3 separate regions of the Homo sapiens genome follow, and regions 1 and 3 are each linked to region 2. The links are contacts of gene promoters, found by promoter capture Hi-C in blood cells and fetal thymus (Javierre and others, 2016). All regions are on one chromosome and are shown on one strand. Each heading gives the region's core, a stretch centred on a gene start or on the middle of the fragment in contact. The rest is flanking DNA. Distances are from core to core; before and after follow the strand shown.

Region 1 (4,146 bases), core at 735-3,234, 870 kb after region 2:
TTATGCCATCTCAAGTATTTCAGTTATATATTAAATTATCGAAAGCTACAGTAATTTTCTGTAAAACTTTTACATGTATAGTATATTGTTAGACCTTACCACAATAAGGGGTGTTTTGCAAATAAGAAAATAAAAACACTTTTAAGTGAACTTATTTTTTTTCTTACTGTTAGGTAAGTCCTTTAAATATTCTATATTTTTGTTTCACATTACCACTCCGTATGTTCTGTCAAGTGTACACTTACTATTCAGATTCCACGAGGAATAGAGTGACTCCGAGGGAGGCTGGTACACTTAGTAAGTGGCAGGCCCAAGGGTTGGAAAACAATCTGGCTCCTGAGTTTGTGTCTAAGCTTTCCTTCTTTTAAAAATCCATAGGGTTAATTGTGAAGTAATTTTTAAGCATTTAACTAGAATGTGTTGATAATGTGCAACTTGTAAAATCTTATAAGATACAATTTTTGTTTAAGGCAATGTTTGTTTACCTTTTTTTTTTTTTTTTTTCCTGAGACAGAGTCCTGCTCTGTTGACCAACCTGGAGTGTAGTGATGGGAGCTCTGCTCACTGCAACCTCTGCCTCCCGGTTTAAGCCTTTCTCGTGCCTCAGCCTCCCGAGTAGCTGGGATTACAGGAGCATGCCACCAAGCCTGGCTAATTTTTGTATTTTTAGTAGAGACGGGGTTTCACCATGTTGGTCAGCCTTGTCTCAAACTCCTGACCTCAAGTGATCCACCTGCCTTGGCCTCCCAAAGTGCTGGGATTTCAGGCGTGAGCCACTGTGCCCGGCTGGTTTACCGTATTTTTTAATACACTAATATGTGTTAGCCTCAAAGACCTAGTTTCTTCTATAAAGTTTATAAACCAGGCTTCATGATTTTAGGGGAGATGACTTTTTAGAATATCTAAAAGGAGATGTTTCATTTTTTAAACCAAAATTTAGAAGCAGAAGCTACCTGGCACTAGTGTCCTTTTATCCATCATGAAAGTCTAGTCCCTTTGGTAGGGGACAAATGGATGCTTGTGGCTCAAGAGAAAGTAAACCCTGAGAAAGAGTTACTGAGTTAGAGTATGGTTTCAGATAAAAACGGTGATTAACTTCAGAAGATTTTTTTTATAATTATGGAACTCCAGACTAAACATTCTTAGGGTTTCTGGTCCAAAAGAGCTTCATTAAAAAAATATATATATATATACTTGGACATTCCACTGATCGCCGCTGTTTCAGGTGGGGTCATTTTAAGCTGTTAGTCATCTCTGGACCAGTCGCTGTGATCATTCCAAATGATTTCCCCCTTGAATTTCAATGACATCTATGCTGGGCTCAAGGGCTCATGCCTGTAATGCCAGCACTTTGAGAGGCCAAGGTGGGTTGATCACTTGAGACCAGGAGTTTGAGACCAGCCTGGCCAACGTGGCAAAATCCTGTCTCTACTAAAAATACAAAAAAAAAAAAATTAGCTGGGCACGTTGGCTCATGCCTGTAATCCCAGCTACTCTGGAGACTGAAGCACGAGAATTGCTTGAACCCAGGAGGCAGAGGTTACAATGAACCGAGATGACACCACTGCACTCCAGCCTGGGCAACAGAGTAAGACTGTCAAAAAAAAAAAAAAAAAGAAGAAGTCAATGACATTTGGCTTATGTATGCAACTCATACAGTGCTGACTTTAAACAGCCAGTACAGTAGGAGAAAGGGAACGACCCCCAAGAACTAGAGAAGAATCATCATCGCATAGGAGTTAAGCACATAAGCCCCATGTGTAACGGACCAGGTCAGGTGCTTGCTGAGTCACCAGTGATGCATCTGGAGATGTGTGACTCCCTGCAGCATCAAAGCAACTCCTGGGAAGTCTCACGGAGGCAGAAGAGAGACTCAGTTATAAATGCAAATGCTAAATCTGGCCGGCTGTACTGCCTATGTGAAGACCATATTAAAATAACCAGGCAACTTTTTTGATGTTAATTTAATAATAACAGCTATGCAAAATACTTAAAAACCAACTGTTTCAATTCAAGCAAGTCCCACTTCCACCCTAGGGGTGGGGTATTCTTTTTAACCCGACTTTCATGATGGATAAACCAAGGCACAGAGAAGTTCAGTAACTTTTCCAGGACTCCAGTCTCGTAAGTGACAGGGAGGACGGACTCCTGGGTCCACCCTGGCATAGAAGCATACTGTGTTATCTGTGTAACGGCCCGCCTGCCGGTGCTGCAAGCTCCCGAGGATGGGAAATGTGTGTTACCTTTCCACCGGAGGCCCAGCACCTTCATCACTGCTGCTTTCCTAGCACAGTGTGTTTGTTGGTGTGGAGGAGTGTTTAGAAGGCAGGAATTTGCTCTTTTTTTTTTACATAGCACTGCCCTGGAGACAGGGACCAGATCTTCAAGAGGGAACATTATTTATTCATCATCGATTATGGTTGCAGTGTGAAACAGAAAGAATACAGACACAAAATACACAGTACCTGCTCTCACAGGCCTCACATCTTCTTAAGATGACAGAGTGATATTAATTTTAAGATAAAATTCTTATTTAAAGGCTGGCTTCCATATTAATCCTAAATGAGTGTGGGCTTCATATTGGAGTTTCAAAATACAGGAATCAAAAGCTGATAGAACTGAAAAGGGGAAATAAGTCTGCAATTCTAGCTAGAGATTTCAACACAGTAATGGATAGAATCAGTGCCTAGACAATCTGTGGAAAGACAGAAGAGCTGGACAACTCTACCCTGCCCGGGACATTAGTGACCACACCCAATTGAAGCAAATACACATTCTGCTCACAGGCATTTGGGACATTCACCAAGAGAGAAGAGAACACATTCTGGGCCATAAAATGAATGTGTGTTGGAAAGGATGGAAATTCTGCCACATTCGCACCCCCAGCTGCAAAGCCTCTCTCTGGGTGCAGATGGAGAGAACAAGCCTGCTGTTGGGGTGACAGGCAGCACCTGTGTGCAATTGTACAGGCCTGCACTAAACAATCTCAGAGTGTGCAGGAGAGGAGAAGGTGGTGAGACATGTGGAAGGGGAGCCATCAGCAGGACACAACTCCTTGCAGCAACTGTGGGGCTCAAGAGAGGAGTAACAGCCAGGAATATTCACTGGTTCCTGGCTTGGGTAATGGTGTGGGTTATGATTTAATTCACTAATCATAAAAGTGCAAGGCAAGAGGAAAGATTTGGAATGAGTCTGTGCATCTGTGTCATTGTGTGTGTGTCCATGAGTTTGTGTGTGTTTGTGTGTGTCTCTGTGTGTCTGAGGGTGTCTGTGTGTCTGTGCATGTGTTGGTGTGTGTGTGTATGTGTGTGTCTGTATTTCTGTGCATGTCTGTGTATGAATGTGTGTGTCTGAGTGTGAGTGCATTTGTGTGTGTATAAGTGTGTGTGATTAGTTCAGATTTTCTGTCTTATCTATTGGAGAGAATACCAATTTGAACACAAGTGAGATAGCTCTCCTAGATAAATGGATGTCCAGGTCAAGCGCATTCAGGCGGTGGACAGGCCCAAAGTTGTGAGTGGAGAGTGGGGAGGAAGAAGTGATGGGAGAGGGTCCTGAACACCTCCATTAACAAGGACACTGATGGATGGGCAGAAGCTGAGACCATGAAGCTTGTACTGCAGAACTAGGAAAGGAGAACCCAGTGGAAGGAGTTTGGCAGGCATTACTGGTCGTCCACTCAACAAGCATTGCTCCTCCATCCACACTGGCAGAACCTGGCCACCCCTTTCTTCGTGAATCAGGACAGTCCTGATGAGCGTAAGCCTGTCCTGTGGTCCCCTTCCCTATTGGATTGAATCATTTAGAGGGGGGAATGGCTCCTAAGCCCAAATAGGACTTTTTCTACTTAGGAACTCATAAGCTAAGGGGAGTCTTTTCTTTTTAGGCTGTGAATCATTTATGCTGGGACAAGAGGCTGCCGAAGGATTCCTAGAAAATTTTTTCAGGTTCTCAAAGCTGGGGAAGAAACAATTTCCTTGCATTTGGTGGACAGTGATGTGTCTGGTTTTGCTCTTTCCAAACACAGGTACTCTCACACTGTCACATGTCACACACATGCACACAGCACTCTCTGTTTCTATTTCTCTCTATTACTCTTCCTCCCTCCTTCCCTCTTTCTCTTCCTTCCAACTTCCTATGCCTTCT
Region 2 (4,552 bases), core at 96-2,595:
TGGACCTTTTGTCACCCTTTTTCTGGCCTGGCTTAGTTATTTATTGATGTACAGTACAGGACATACCGCATACAGTCACCCATTCCTATAAGGCAGTTTTTCGACAGAAGGGTATTCTTGCACCGTTAGGGGACACTGCTTTGCTATAAACCTCCTAGGCAGGATTACCGCCAGGCTCACCCCTAGTTTTATTCAGGGAACACTGTAGACTCTAGGATCGCGAATGCCATTCCAATAATACCATACACTTGTACGCCACATATTTAAGTTTTGGATACACTTTCATAAACTTTTCTATTCTAATTGTACCTTACAGGGAGAATAAGGAAGAGTAAGCGTGGTTTGTTTAAAGTTACAGATTTCAAATAGACAAGAAGCGACTAAGAGAAACTTGAGAATTCCCAAAGTAATCTTCCTCAAAATTTCAGTCATCAACCCAGTTCTCCCACGAAACGCTGCTTGGCGCCGCCTTCAGACAAACTTCTGTGTTGCTCGCACCAAGTTATCCCAACGCGGCTTGCGCTTGCTGCTGAAATGACCCTCCCTTCGGAGAGACCTGTTTTACCCTAAAAAGAAAAGGTGGCGCATTGCCATGAAGTCTCGAGTAGCAGCAGGCTTCACGCAGAACCCGCAGGAAATGATTTCCCAGCCGGTGCAAACCCGAAGACGGAAACTTCAGCCAAGAACTTATCAGCATATCCCTGAGGACGCAGCTGTCCCCTGACAGGCGACGCAAACGAAACGCCTCAGAAAGGGGCAAGATGACACGGTTAGGATCTCCCTGCCGGCGACACCGAGCGCGGCCACAGGTTGTAGCGCAGGACAGAAGGTTGAGTCATCTAGAAGGCGCCGACCCCTCCCACCCCCTCACCCGGAGCGCGGCAAAAGGCAAGGAGAACGCGTCGACCCTCGCAGCCAAGCCCCGGCAGCTGCCCGAGCGCTCGGCCTCGGGGACCCGCCGTCCTCCTCGCAGGGTTCCCGGGCGCCCAGGCCGAGGAGGGACTTACCCGTCCTTGGCGTGGCCGCCGCCCCCGAGGACCTGAGATCCCGGCTCGGCCTCCTTCCCATGCTTCTCCCGGCCGTGCTCTGCGTCCTCCCGGGCCCTCGCGACACCGGCGCACGTGGGAAGCACCAGTCGCCGGCTCCGCGCTCCCGCGGGGACCCCCCTCAGGGGCACGCCGTCCGCCCCAGCCCCGGGGTCCTCGCCGCGGGCGCTGACAGGGACGCCGCGGCCGCCCGCGCTCTGTCTCCCGTCAGGGTCACGGGCAAGAGGCAACCCCGGGACGCCCGGCAGCCTGCGAGAACATGCCGACTTTCTCTCTGACCGGCGCTAGCAACCGGAAGCAAAACCTCGCGGCCAAAGGAAAAGAAAAGGGGAGGGGGGGGCAAAAAAAGAAAGTGAAAACTGAAGTGAGGCGTCTCCCTCAGAGATGGGAACCAATCGCCGGGAAGAAACCAAGGCGCAGGCGCGGACCGAGGTCAGCGTCCACGCGGCGCTCGCGTCTCCCCTCTGCGCAGGCGTAAGGCCACAGCTCGCTCCTGATTAGGCGGCCGATCCCAACGAGCGCGTGGTGTCTCGCGTTGCCGACCCTTGACAGGAGGCGGAAGATGCCCTTGGGAAGAGGCGGGAGACGCTCTCTCGGCTGACCTACAGTGCTGTGGCTGTGGCCCACGTGGTCGCCTTCGGGCGCCTTCTCCCTTCTCAGCGTTTCATTCCCCAGGTGCTGCTGCAAGAACAGTTTATTTGTCTGGCCCGAATGCGACATTTTGGAAATTTTGCCCTTGTTTTAATCCATATAGTAGGTGTGGCTGTTACCCCCTAGGAAAGCATCTCTAGAAATTTATAACACATGCACAGAGAGCTAAGGTGACCATCAATAAATTCAGGTTTACCCTTGCCCATGATAAATAGTCATGCAAACATCATTTAACTGTAGGGACACCTTATGAGAGAGATGCCTCATTAGGCAATTTGGTCCTTGAGTGAACATCACAGAAACCTAGAAGCATAACCTACTACATACTTACACCATAAGCCATAGCCCATTACTCCTGGCTACAAACCCATGCTATATGTTATTGTACTGAATACTGTGGACAATTATAACACAATGGTAAGTATTTGTATAAGCATATCTAGACATAGAAAAGGTACAATAAAAATACAGTATGAAAAATAATGGTACACCTGTGTAAGGCATTCTCACGAATGGACCTTGCAGTACTGGGAGTTGCTCTGGGTGAGTCTGTGAGTGAGCAATGAGAATGTGAAGGTCTGGGACATTACTGTACACTCTTGTAGACTTTATAAACACTGTACACCTAAGCTACACTGAATTTATTTTTTTAAATTTTTTCATAATTAACCTTAGCTTACTGTAACTTTTTAACTTTTTAAAACTTTTAAAAAACTTTTTAAGACTCTTTTGTAATAACACTTAGCTTAAAACAAACACATTGTACACAAATATTTTCTTTATATCCTTAATCTGTAAGTTTTTTTCTATTTAAAAATTTTTTTAATTTACTTTTTAAACTTTTTTGTTAAAAACTAAGACACAAACACACATTAACCTGGGCCTACACAGGGTCAGGATCATCAACATCATTGTCTTCACCTCCATTTTGTCCCACTGGGGGGCTGGGATTACGGTGGAGCCACTGCGCCTGGCCATGTGTGCTGTACTTTTATATGACTGGCAGTGCAGTAGATTCATTTACACCAGCATCACCACAAACATATGAGTAATGTGTTGCTGTACGAAATTAAGATGGCTACGACATCACTAGGCAATAGAACTCTTCAGCTCTATTATAATCATATAAGATCACTGTTGGATATGTGGTCTGTTGTTAACTGAAACATTAAGTGACATATGACTGTACCAATGAGAGAGATTAAGTGCTAATGAACATGTATCATGAGTCAAGCACTGTGCTGGTAATACCAAGAGATTCAGTCATTGTGTTTACTGTTTACTGTAACCAGGTGCTGTAATAGACACTGGTTTTACAATCATGAACAAGCTAGATAAGGACCCTGCCTATAATGGAATTTATTCCAGAGGTGAGTGACAAACACAGGTAAATCACCACGACAAGAAAATAGAATCTCAGATAACAATACATGCTGTGAAAACTCACTGGAAATGCTAGTGGATGGGACTGGGGGCTGGAGGCCAAGGGCAGAAGTAGTGGAGCTACAAGATCTTACTGAAATGGGCACATCTGAGGTCAAACCCTAAAGATCAAAACTGATAGAACCAAAGCTTGGAATACGTGGAGGAAGAGCTTTCCAGGCAGAAGGGAAAGCAAGTGCAAAGGACTTGAGAAGTGAAATGAAACCTATTCAAGAACAGAAGAAGGCTGACTGTGGAAGTAGAGAGTGAAGTACAACAACATTTTAATAGTGCACAAAACCGGAATGTACAACTCCATGATTTATCACAAGGCAAATATTCATGAAACCAACACCCCCATCAAGAAATAGAACATTGCCAGTACCCCATCCCTCTTCCCTAGCCTAAGCACTATTCTGACTTCCATGGTACTCTCTTCTTTGCTTTTAAAAGTAAGTTTGCCAACTAAATATGCACCCTGAAACTTTATCATTTAGTTTGCTTGTGGTTTGAACTGTATATAAAGTGAATAATTTTGTGCCTGCTTGTGAGACTCACTGTGTTTTTGGGTGTACTTGTTCTTTCGTTTTCATTGCTGTATATGTAGGCGTGAATGTAACACATTTGCTTTACCCATTGTATTATTGATGGACATTTGGGCTGTGTCCAGTTCTTGGCTATTATAAATAATACTTTTGTGATCATTCTCATTTACATCTCTTGGTGTACATGGGCACTCATTTCTGTTGGATGAAAACCTAGGATTGGGATTTTGGAATGCTAGACATGATAATTTAGATTTTTGTTTCTGCAAATATTTATGCCCTTATTCCCCACGGTTGGCCAAGTTTCCTTCTCTACTTCATTGACGTTGGGCTTGGTCTAAGAGAGGTCTTTTGGCTGATAGAATATCAGCAGACATGACACAGCAGGATTCTTCAGTGTGCTCGTGCTGTTTGAGTTGGCTCCTGTGCTCAGGTGATTCATATGTGGAGAAAATATCTCGCGTAGCTGTTGTCTCTTCAGCCTGAGTCTCCAGAACAAACCTATGTGGAACAGATGTGACACCAACCCACAGTCCAACACACTTTGGATTAACAGAGCCTTAGACATCCTGAAGATCAAGGATTCTGAAAGTTAATGCTGTTATCAAAAGCTAACCGAGTTTGGGGTGATTTATTATAGGGCATTATTGTGGCAATAACAAGGGCATATGTTCAACTTTAGCAGATCATTTCAAACTTTTTGCAAGCTGGTTTTACTAAGTTATACAGTTCCACAAAGATAATTCTAGTTCGTCTACATCCCTGCCAATACTTTTGAATTGTAGCCACTCTGAAGGGTGTGTCATGGTTTGAATTTGCATAGTATACAATGTTGTTCTTTTTCAAGTATGTTTGGCTATTCTAAGTCTTTTTTTTTTTTTTTTGAGA
Region 3 (2,851 bases), core at 352-2,851, 850 kb after region 2:
AGCTCACCTCCCACGTGTCCAGGAAGTCCGTGTCACTGGGAATAACCATGTTGCTCTCGTCCAGAGGCAAGTCCTGCACTCGAGGATGTGAGAGGCAGAAGGAAAGTTCACTGCAGCTCATGATCCATTCTGGATGAGGAGGCTGCGAAGAAGGAGAGTTGAGATGTGTGAAAACAAAACAAAACAAAACAAAAAAAACCATGTGTCAGGAGACCTGCATCCAAGCCACAGCCCTGTCACTAAGCAACCCCAGCCTGGCCATGTGACCAGGCCCAGTCTTCACCTTTCTAAGAAAAGATGAATGGCTGGTGGACTGGATGGCTGGCAAAGCCTCTGCCAGCCTGATGTTCACTGTTCATCTCTCACAAGATGGGAAAGGAAGACCCTGTATCCTTACTGATGCAAGGTTGTCCTCTCCCATTGCCTCCAGAAAATAGTTTACTAATTTCGGGTAAAGAATGGGTGAGGAGTGCATTTTCTTCATGTCTTATAGAGCCCAATCAACCCTCTCCTAACTCCACTGTTAGGGTCTTGTCTTCTTTCTTAGAATCCCCATCATGATGACAGGTAAGGAAGTGAGAATACAAAGGTACACAGGAGGTAGAGGGCAGAGAGATACATCTTGAAAGGGCAAGAACCTAAAGTCATCTTTCAGAGAAGCACTGACGTGCAATCCAGCTACCTCCCTCATGTACTCCCACGTAGCATGTTAAGGGTGAATGGCATAGGCATGTTTATTTAATGACACCTAATCACACTCCTAAACAACAGTGGAAGAATGTCACATGTTCCAGCCTGATACACATGAAAGAGGCATTTTCCATGATGAGCTGAAGTAACTAACAGTCTCACTTTAAAGCCACATCCCATGTTGCCATTTATCCAAGCCTCCACAAAATTGCAGCCCGGGACTCATACTCGGACCCTGATCTAATTGTCCAGCATCACACAAGGCCTAGCAGTTCCTACTGGCCAGAAGACATGCTGACGATGCTGCATTATTCTCTTCTGTAATTTGTTGGATGATCTGAGACCTTTTCCTTTTCTACGACCCAGAAATCCAAAGACAGGAATCTGCTAAAGGATGAGGGCAAGGAAAGTGTAACAAATGTCTGACCTGAGCATATGCTTCTGGGCTCCAATAATCTAACTTAAACCTTAAACTTTCTGTATCTTAGTTTCATCATCTCTCCAAGAGGGATGTTAATAGTGTCAACTTTGTAGAACTGTCATGAGAATTAAATGAGTTAATATGTGTAAAGTACCTAACATAGTTCTGGGTACATAATTACAACAATGCTGGCTGGCAATGAGTGTAATACAGCTGTAGCCATTGTTTTAATTATGATTTTCTGCATGCAATGAATTTCAAGGCACAGACATCACTCTGGTTTTGCCCTCTGGGTATCTTCCCCTCTTAGTCAGTGTCACTAACGGACAGCTGCCCACATCGTTTATGGAAACTAGATACAAAGCCTTAGTTAAGTAAAGCTGTGCTAGGAATGAAGTGTTTTTTGTTATTTTACTCTAAAACAGTAACCAACAGTGTGGCACACATAAAGGGACCTTCTCACAGGTTGGTATGTAGAAGACTGCTGAGCAGCAGTCACCCATTCCATTGTAGGAAGAACATCCCTGCAAGGGCTTCTGTATTTCACAGGTGTCAACTGTGTGATCAGGCCCTTGCCCAGGCAGGCTGTCATCACAGCCCAGGGCAAATATGCAGGGACATCCTGGCCAGGACCCGTGTGAGGCAGAAGCAGGTTGCCTAGAGTAGGGAAGTTGCACGGCCAGACTGGGGTAGCTTAGTGACAGAGCCATGGCTCAGATGCATGCTCCAGACACACTGTGAAGCAATTAAGAGAATAAAACCAAGTGGAAAAGTCAACTACCAGCACAACCCACTGGACCCTGCTGCAGGTGAACAAGCAAATATCTCCCATATTGCAAAACAGCATTTACTCCCCAAAGAGAACAGAACCTGCAAGAAGAGACAAGGCCTAGGAATTCACTGGGAACTTTCTCTGAGCAGCAGTATTTCCTCATCTGATCACTGCTTTCACCTAAAAACCTAAGGGAAAAAAATCTACTGCTCTCTTGGCTTGGAAAAAAAGCGACTGGCTTGAAAGACAGACCTGTGGGGGCCTCAGAGGTCAAGCCAAGCCTCTCCTTAACTGAGGCCCAGAGATATCAAGAGGACTGCCCAAATGCCGCAGCTAGCATGTGGCAGATGCAGCCTGGGAACCCCTGCCCTGAATGCTGGTCCATGCTCTCCCCACCGCAAGACAGGGTGTGAGCACGGGGAGGAAGGTCCTGCAAACTGCAGAACGAACTACCTACTGAACGGTACCTTGAAACCCATGGGCCAGTGTATGAGGTAGAGGTCCAAATAGTTCAGCTTCAAGGCCTTGAGACTCTTTCTGCATGCTGTTTCCACCAAGGACTTCTTATGGCAGGTGCACCACAGCTACAAAGGAGAGGGGACCAGCGTCACACGTGCCCACCCAGAGCCAGCATGGCACCCATTCTGTAGCCCCACAAAGCTACTGTCTTGAACCCAAAATAGCCAAGATGAGATGACCACAAATACAACACGGCAAGTTCTGATGGGAGGACAGGGACATTATCCTCAGAAGAGTTCCAGGACACCTGCAGGGAGAGGCTCCAAAGCTGGGATCCTTCTGCCTGACTCCTCCTCAAGGGAAGCTCAGGAATCCAAGAGATATTTGATGGTTATTTGGATTCATTGGGACCAAAAACAAAAACGAAAATGAAATTCCTGCAGGCAGAAAAGATATGACGAAAAATCAGAAGAATCTCTATCTTGTGTTTCTCACTTACACAGACTCCG

Evidence for each region. Contacts are between HindIII fragments. The CHiCAGO score rates a contact against its expected background, and 5 or more counts as called.
Region 1: a fragment that was not itself captured here is called in contact with the fragment with the promoter of TASOR2 in region 2 in 4 of 17 cell types (M1 macrophages, monocytes, M0 macrophages and 1 more); the score reaches 7.3 in M1 macrophages.
Region 3: a fragment that was not itself captured here is called in contact with the fragment with the promoter of TASOR2 in region 2 in 1 of 17 cell types (erythroblasts); the score reaches 6.0 in erythroblasts.

What each region holds. Positions count from the first base shown.
Region 1 is chr10:4,810,791-4,814,936 of GRCh38, reverse strand. No RefSeq gene overlaps it. Among named protein-coding and RNA genes, the nearest start is that of AKR1E2, 13 kb to the left of the region's middle. The HindIII fragment of the contact is 3,258 bases long and covers 356-3,613 here.
Region 2 is chr10:5,681,631-5,686,182 of GRCh38, reverse strand. It overlaps TASOR2 (transcription activation suppressor family member 2), which reads right to left and starts at 1,345. Exons shown (of 22, transcript NM_001321783.2): 1 at 1,008-1,345. RefSeq lists enhancers at 502-681, 1,302-1,411, 1,552-1,791 and silencers at 902-951, 992-1,251. The HindIII fragment of the contact is 4,285 bases long and covers 1-3,271 here.
Region 3 is chr10:4,832,966-4,835,816 of GRCh38, reverse strand. AKR1E2 (aldo-keto reductase family 1 member E2) reads right to left here. Exons shown (of 10, transcript NM_001040177.3): 3 at 2,351-2,467; 4 at 8-142. Among named protein-coding and RNA genes, the nearest start is that of AKR1E2, 8.2 kb to the right of the region's middle. The HindIII fragment of the contact is 4,627 bases long and covers 1-2,851 here.